Linked DNA regions of Homo sapiens: region 1 is linked to region 2. The links are contacts of gene promoters, found by promoter capture Hi-C in blood cells and fetal thymus (Javierre and others, 2016). All regions are on one chromosome and are shown on one strand. Each heading gives the region's core, a stretch centred on a gene start or on the middle of the fragment in contact. The rest is flanking DNA. Distances are from core to core; before and after follow the strand shown.

Evidence for each region. Contacts are between HindIII fragments. The CHiCAGO score rates a contact against its expected background, and 5 or more counts as called.
Region 1: a fragment that was not itself captured here is called in contact with the fragment with the promoter of DUSP23 in region 2 in 4 of 17 cell types (M2 macrophages, endothelial precursors, M1 macrophages and 1 more); the score reaches 6.7 in M2 macrophages.

What each region holds. Positions count from the first base shown.
Region 1 is chr1:159,440,627-159,444,679 of GRCh38, reverse strand. It overlaps OR10J1 (olfactory receptor family 10 subfamily J member 1), which reads right to left. Exons shown (of 1, transcript NM_012351.3): 1 at 3,713-4,053. The coding sequence ends at 3,959. Among named protein-coding and RNA genes, the nearest start is that of OR10J1, 2.9 kb to the right of the region's middle. The HindIII fragment of the contact is 2,760 bases long and covers 451-3,210 here.
Region 2 is chr1:159,779,507-159,783,229 of GRCh38, reverse strand. DUSP23 (dual specificity phosphatase 23) reads right to left here and starts at 2,268. Exons shown (of 2, transcript NM_001319658.2): 1 at 1,863-2,268; 2 at 687-1,077. The coding sequence starts at 2,129. The coding sequence ends at 892. RefSeq lists an enhancer at 1,376-1,952 and a silencer at 1,944-2,333. The HindIII fragment of the contact is 4,062 bases long and covers 1-3,494 here.

The sequences.
Region 1 (4,053 bases), core at 581-3,080, 340 kb after region 2:
GTGGCCTTCAGGTTTATATTGTGTCTCCCTACCCCCACCCAGTACAAGTGCATAGGCTTTCCTTTGGGCTTACAGATGTCTCAGAGATATATGTCTGTAGATTGCTGGGGAGGAGGGAGTGTGTGTCCAACAGAAATATTGCAAAGGCATTTAACATATCCTAGCCTCAGTTCTACTAGGCAGTGAGTGAGTGAGGTACTCATGCTTTCTGAAGTCTTCGATGGCATCCACAGAAATAAGAGTTTAAAGTTTGAGTTGCTGGAAGTTTCCTTACATAAAAGAGTCCTGCACCACCATAAAGATCTCAAATCCCTCTATTGCATGATCTGTCCCTTTATTGCTAATGGTGTTTAGTGTGTGCTTGAAGAGAGGTGAGCTGGTTGACTGGCCAAGAACCTGTGTTTATTATTCTTTATTTATAATTTAAAAACATCAATTGGAACTAAAGCTTTCTTCCTTCTGTGCTCTAGTTTAACATTCATTAGTCTACCAAATATATATATATATATATATATATATATGTTATGTTAATATATATGCTACGTTAATATATATTATTTATATATATATATATCAGTCTGTCTGTCCACAGGCCAGACACTTGGCATAATTGACCACTTATTCCCAGCATCTGGCTCCAGATCTAACGCAACACAGTGTCTACTGAATTCTTGAATCTGTTTAAGTAAGGGTTAGGTTTGCTTGTGGAGCTCTAAATGCTTTTCTATGATTTGTTTTAATATTGGAGAAAATGGATACTCATGTTCCCTAAATTCTCAGCTGGTTCTGCATGAATAAGACTTTACAGCTTGTGCTGTGCTGGAGATGCTCTTCCTCATGAGTCCCCACTGGCTAGAGTAAGGGTACCAGGTGGCCCTTTTATATAGGACCTCTCTTGGAAAAGCCTTGGGGATGAGGTTTTGATTTATTTGGAATGTTTGAGGCCCCGGAGAATGTAAATTTTGCCTAGTTTGATTTCTCTAGTACATCACTATCTCCATTGTGAGTCGCCCTTGGGTGAGGATTTATTCTAGGAAAACAGAAAATGCCAGCCAACTGGTGCAAGTTCAAGTTCTGCCTTCACTCCTTTTTCTATCTCAATCTTATTATCTGTATAATGAGAGCCTTATCCTTGTCTCCCTTGAGATTGTTCTGAGGACCTAGTGAGATAATGGTTGGGAAATTGTCTTGTGGCAAGGGGCTACAGTGTGAAAGCAGTGATACAGAGCATGAATGATGACTAAAATAATTCCAAAAAAAGGGATTGTTGAAAACATTTGATTCCATAATGTCTGACTGTTAAGCTATTCTGTTCAAACAAGATTTCTGAAAAACCTGAGTGATAAATGTTCTAAAATTCCATGGTGATGAAATGTTCTGAGTGATGCCCAGCAGGAGCTACATAGCCTTTGGCCCCAGGAGATAGCACTACACACAGATCAAGGCAACCTTACTGTCCAGGTAACAGGCATTTATTTCACTGAACTTCAACGTGCAAAGTCCATTCTTAGCTTGATGAGATTTAGCTTTATATAGATCAGGAAAAAATATCCCGAGGCTTACATTTTTGTCATTAAATATTAAGCATACTTTGTTCATTTCTCCATCACATTGAATTACGGTGAGTTCTGCATAAACCCATCTCCCTTTCAAGACTGGAAACTATTTAAGGGATAGTACAGGGCTTATTTCAAGATTTTTTTATGTCTAGCATAGTATCTGGCACATAGTAAATACTTTATGAATGTTTATTGAATAACTGGTAAACATTTCATGAATGTTTACTGAATGCCTGTCAAAATCTTTACCAGCAATGTTTTGCTTTTTTCAGTTTTTTTTCTTGTCAGTTAACAACTTGTCTTAGTTACTTTTAGCCACCTTATGATGTTCTTAGAGAACTTTAGATATGGTTTTATTTTTGCCATTGACCTTGTTAATCCTGAAAAATGCCCTAGTAGTTCTATTATGGTCTGGAATGCAGATACATGTGTCCTTTGGATCTCGGCTGTTTTGTTTGTTTGTTCGTTCAAAGGCTTTTCTGATTAAAGAGTCCACACTTTCAGCCTAGTAGAAAGTGTGCCCTGAGACCATACTGCCACCAGGTCTGAGGCCCAGCCTAGTCACTGATTTGACAGCAAATCCTTATTCTTCCCTTGGTGCTCATCTGTATCTCAAACCCCAAATCTACATGACAGTCCTGGGACAGCCTCCACTCCATGTTCTCTATGACAGTCTGATTCAGCTTCATCTTAAGTACATAATTATTTCTGTGTATTCTCCCCAATACCTTAGTCACATTTTCTTTTTACTCATGAGCTTTTTGGCTTGCAGTCCAAAGTCTCCCTCCCCCTATATGGCTTTTTAGATATCTCAGGGGAGCTAAGTATGATAAAGATGTTAAGAATTCATATAGATGCTTCACAAACTGAATCCTAGTTCTCCTAAGTCCTGGGTAGTTCCCATATTTAAAAGTAAAAACTGTCCGGGTGCAGTGGTTCACGCCTGTAATCCCAGCACTTTGGGAGGCCAAGGTTGGTGGATCACCTGAGGTCAGGAGTTTGAGATCAGCCTGGGCAACATGGAGAAACCCTGTCTCTACTAAAAATACAAAAATTAGCCGGATGTGGTGACGCATGCCTGTAATCCCAGCTACTCAGGAGGCTGAGACAGGAGAATCACTTGAACCCAGGAGGCGGAGGTTGCAGAGAGCTGAGATTGTGCCACTGCACTCCGGCCTGGGCAACAGAGCAAGACTCTGTTTTTTTTAAAAAAAAGTTAAAGCTGAAATTCCTTAATTTGGCATATGAGGCCTTCAGAATATGACCCCAACCTACCCTTCTGGTTTTATCTCCTTCAATCCCCACCTCTTCCATGTCCTGGAGTCAGCACAACTGAATCATTTTTCGTTACCTGATCAGTCCTTTTGCTTTCATACCTGTAGCTACATTGTTTCTTCTCTTTGGAATTCTTTCTTATCATTCAGACAATCTCTTGTGTTTTAAAAACAGTTTGCATCACAGGTCCCCTCCTCTTAAGACTTCCCTAACATCTCCAACAGTCTCTCTCTCTTCCCCTTTCCTTTTCTTTCTTTTTCTGAGTTCTTCTTTAATTGTGTGTAAACACCACTTACCATAAAGAACTGAAACCATACTGTCAAATGCTTGTTTTTACCACTAGGCTTGTAGCTTCCTGAAGCCAGACAAGAAAGCTTTTTTAATCTTTATTTCTCCAGGACCTAGCACAGAGGCTAGTTCATAGCTCTTGCCCATTATGTGTTTTCTGATTTAGCCAAATTTGAAAGGATCCAGGAGTATCTCAGATTATGCCCTCAAAACACTGTCATGATGACTGTAGAATTGCCAGCATCTCTAATTAAACTGTGTATGCTCACCATCTTTAATAAGCAGTTTTGCTAGAATCTGGGATAAATTAACACATCCAGGAGAGAACATCTATTTCTCCTGGGCTATCTAATCCTGAGGCCACTTTCCCTCCCCACACAGTAACTTATTACTTGACATGTCATAAACATACTCCAATAGGGAATCCAGTTTCAGAAGCCCTGGTGCTCTAGTATAGGAAGAAAGGGATTATAGGAAAAAGATTTTAAGTGTGTCTTGGATTCTATTTTCTCAAGGGGCTTTCTATTGCCTTCATTAGGTGGAGATTCACAAAGAAACCAAAAGGTCAGTAAAAAATTCTCAGCCCATACTACTTTCTGGCCTTTTATTTAGGCATATCTTATCCTTGTTTGTCTATTTATCCCCAAAAATAGGGATAACACTCCATCCAGTAACTTTATTTAAAGCTTCAGACTCCCAGTTGTATGAAACTGCTATTCCTCTTTTGCCTCTTATTTAAGGGGCAGGTCTCTAGGAGCCAAGTGTTTGTGAGTTTACACCTCATATTCCTGCCTAGTGTGGATGTTGACAGCCTCAGGAGAACTCTTCCTACATGGTCAGGAAAACTTCCCACCAACAGCCCTGCACAGAGCATCTTTGACCTCTTTATTTCTCAGGGTGTATACCACAGGGTTCAGTAGGGGAGTGATGA
Region 2 (3,723 bases), core at 1,019-3,518:
GCCCAACAAGGGGGCAGAATGGGGTCCAATAGGGGATAACTGGAGATAACATCTGAGAAACATGGCCAAGATTTAGAGCCCTGGAACTCTTCATTTAATTGTTAAATATCTGCTCTGCATAACTGCCTAGATTGGCTCTGTTCTCAGGTCCTTTGGCCTGAGGTTGTGGGGCAGCAGAATGAGCCAGAGAGCCCAGATGAGCTGAGCAGCACCTGAGGTTGGTAAGAGGTGACCAGCCCTGTGGAGGTGGAGATGGTGGTTATCTGTGAGTGTGACATCCAGGCTGTCTCTACCCCCAGATAAACAAGGGTGACACGTGTGCAGCAGGTGGGCCTACACGGAGGGGCCTCCTGGCCTGTGAGCATCAGAGACCTGGGAATGCCAGGAGGCCAGGCTATTCTGGACCTGAATCCTTTTCATTGACTAGCTCCCCCAGAAAACACATCAAATATTGTCAGGGAACAGATACATAGCATTTCAGCATCTTCAAGGGATTGAAGACGTGTGTTGCTGTTCTGGCCCATCCTTCCACTTTCTAGAAGTGTTGAAGATGGGCCTCTCTGAGCTTTGCCCACCTCATCCAAAGAACAGAGATGGCCCATCTGTCTTTCCTGTATCACAGGGCTACAGTGAGGCTGAAGTAAGTTAATGTGTGGGAATGCTTTATAAAGTACCATGCAACGTGCCCTGGTTCGTAAAACTCATTTATTCAACAAAGCAGTACAAGCCTCCCCTTCAATCAGGACCTGCCTGCAGGGGTGGGCTACTTCAGTGTCTTCAGCCAATGGGAGCTAGAGGGTTTAATACTTTAGTCCACTTCCCTTCATCTCTGGCCCCATCGACAACATGGGGAAGGGGAGTGAGGGCCTGGTAGAAGGGTACTAAGGCCCCTTATTTCGTTCGCTGGTAGAACTGGAAGACTGCTTTCTCCTGCTCATAGGTCTCGATGGAGCCGGGTCGTAGTCGTCGGATTTCAGCAATGGCATCTCCTGCAGCCAAGCCCCGCTCCTTCACCAGGTAACAGGCCAGCATGGTGCCAGTGCGGCCAAAGCCCAGAGCACAGTGCACTCCCACAGCCTACGAAGAGGGGGCTCGATGGGTGCCACTCAACTCCCCCACCCACAACTGTTTCCTGCCCCTCACTTGGTTCTCCCCACAGCTCCTTCTTCTGTGCCAGGTCCAGGGCTCTGCAGCAAAGTCAGGGAGGGCTGTCCCTGCACTAGGTGGCTAGGAGGCCTCTGCACTGGCTGGTTCAAGAGCTGTCCACCTCTACACAGCCCTCCACCTGTGGTGTTCAATACAGAAGACAGTAGCCACGGCTACTGTGGCTACTGTACTCGAAATGTGGCTAGTCCAAACTGAGATGTAGTGTGAAAAACGCAACAGGGTATGAAGAGGTAGTAGAAAAAAGAATGAAAATATCTCATTAAGATCACCAAAGTTAATTTTATCTGCTTCCCTGCTTTTTAAGAATGCCGTTGCTAGAAAAATTAACATTACATGGAGCCACTTAGGTTCCATTATATTTGGACAGCTTTACTCTAGAAAATGGTAAACAGCCTCCACCTGACTTCAACCCCCACCTCTCCCAGGTGTCTGTCCACACCCTTCTCCTTCACAACTCACAGTATTAGCTGGTTTTCACTGCCTCTCCTCAAGCCCAGTTCGCACTGCTTCGCCCTCTCTTTAGTTCCTTCCGTTTAGCGCTTCCCTCCCCCGCACTGGCTTCCCAGTCTCCCGGCCCTACTGTCTGCCTCCCCGAGCCCAGTTAAGTTATCCCAGGCCCGGTCTCCCCAGCTCCGCCCGTGTCCCCCGCTGACCTTCCAGGCCCCTCCCTCCCTGCGCTGACCCCGCCCGCTGACCTCTCCCCGTGCGTTGGCCTCGTCCACGATCTGCACGAAGCGGTCGATCTGGTCGGGGGCCGGCGGGCAGAAGTCGGGGATGCGCAGGCGGTGCAGGGTGAGGCCGGGGCAGCTGTCGCTGTGAGGGGGCCCGCGCTCCGTCAGGGACACCAGGTGCCGCACGCCCAGGTCCAACAGGAACTGGTAGTGGGCGGGGAGCCGCGGCAGCGCCAGTCCCGCCAGCCGGCCCGGAAGCACCCAGGAGAAGTTGGGGGGCTGCACGCCCATCGCTGGGAAAGGGCACAGGACAGCGGGTCATGGGGGCCGAGGCTGGCCAGCCCCGCTCCGCCCACGCGTCCCCTCGCCCGCTCCGAGCCAAGTAACTCACCACCTACCTGGCCTCGGCGCCTCCCGGGCCACGTGGTCTGCAGGGCGCCGCCCTCGGGTCGCTCTGCCCAGCCGCGGGGATTGGCCCAGAACCTGGGGCGGGGCTGGAACGCGGAACCCAGTCTCTGAGCGACCGAGGGAAGCGCCGCGATCCCGCCCCGTCCGAGCAGATCACGCGGTGATTGGCTGGATCATCATAATGGGCGGGGGGTTACTTCCACGGGGTTCAACCCACTCAGCTAAGAAGGAAGACCTGGAGCGAGTTAGGAATTGTTTGCTGCGGATGGAACAACCCGGGGTCGGGCTCTGCTGCACCCTGGCGGCATGTTGCAGTCATTGCGTCACTGGCGCCTGCCCCTGCCTCCTCGCGGGCCGGCCTAGTTCTACCTCCTTCACGCTGGATGCCCTGGGGTTTAAGAGATGACAAATCGGCTTTCTCCCAGGACGAGGAGTCTCCTCTCTAATGATTGACTGGTCGTTATCAGCGACTTTTTGAACTGTTCCAGTAAGAGGGAATTACTGCTGCAAGGAGGCTATTCTCATTTTTTCATTGCTGGAACTATTAAAAACTTACCCAGGGTAATAATTATAGTAATAATAATAACCAGCACCAACTTCTCCTGTCAATCCAGTTGCTCCTCAGGACTTATTGAGCATTTATTATGTGCTAGATAGTCTTCTAAGCACTTAGCACATACTGACTCATTTAATTGCCACAGTAATCTTATAAGATAGGTGATCTAGTGAATCCCATTTTATGGATGAAAAAACAGAGGCACTGGAGAGGTTAATAAACTTGACCAAAGGATGATGACTAATGCCTCCAAAATCTTTAATAATATCGCCATTTCCTAAAGTTAAATGGAACATTGTTTTCTCTTCACATAACCCCCTCATGTCCCCAAATATTATCTGGGTTAAACGCTTGTGGGTTTTCTTAATTTTTATTAGTATTTCATATTTCTTCATTTTTCAAGGTTTCCTAGTTCTCTGGGTCACTGTCCCCTGGGCAGGCTAGAGTTGATTAGTGTTGTTCTTACTAGGTGGGGGCCCCTAGATCTGAACACCGTTTCCACTGTCATCTGACCAGTCCATATCCTCATTTGAATAATGTGCTTCTAGCGATGCAGACTAACTGTAATTATGAAAATAGTTAACCCTTATTGAATTTGTTTATGTACCAGGCCCTGTGCCAAGCGCTTTCTGGAAGAACCACATGTGAAAGGTATTTTTGTATCTTTTTTTGTACATGAATCATTGGAAGCTTAAAGAAGTTGGTTAACTTGGCCAAGGACACAGTGATCCAAGCCCAGGGCACTTGGCCATGAGGATGTATTATATTTCCTTCCCTTTGCACCCACCTATGACACACGTCTGACCATTTAAGCCTTTGGCTTCAGCAAGATGGAAAGCAATTTGTCTTCTCCTAAAGATCAAAGCCTGCTCTGACCCTGTGGGAAATACACTTACCATTTACCCAGACAATTACTTTCCC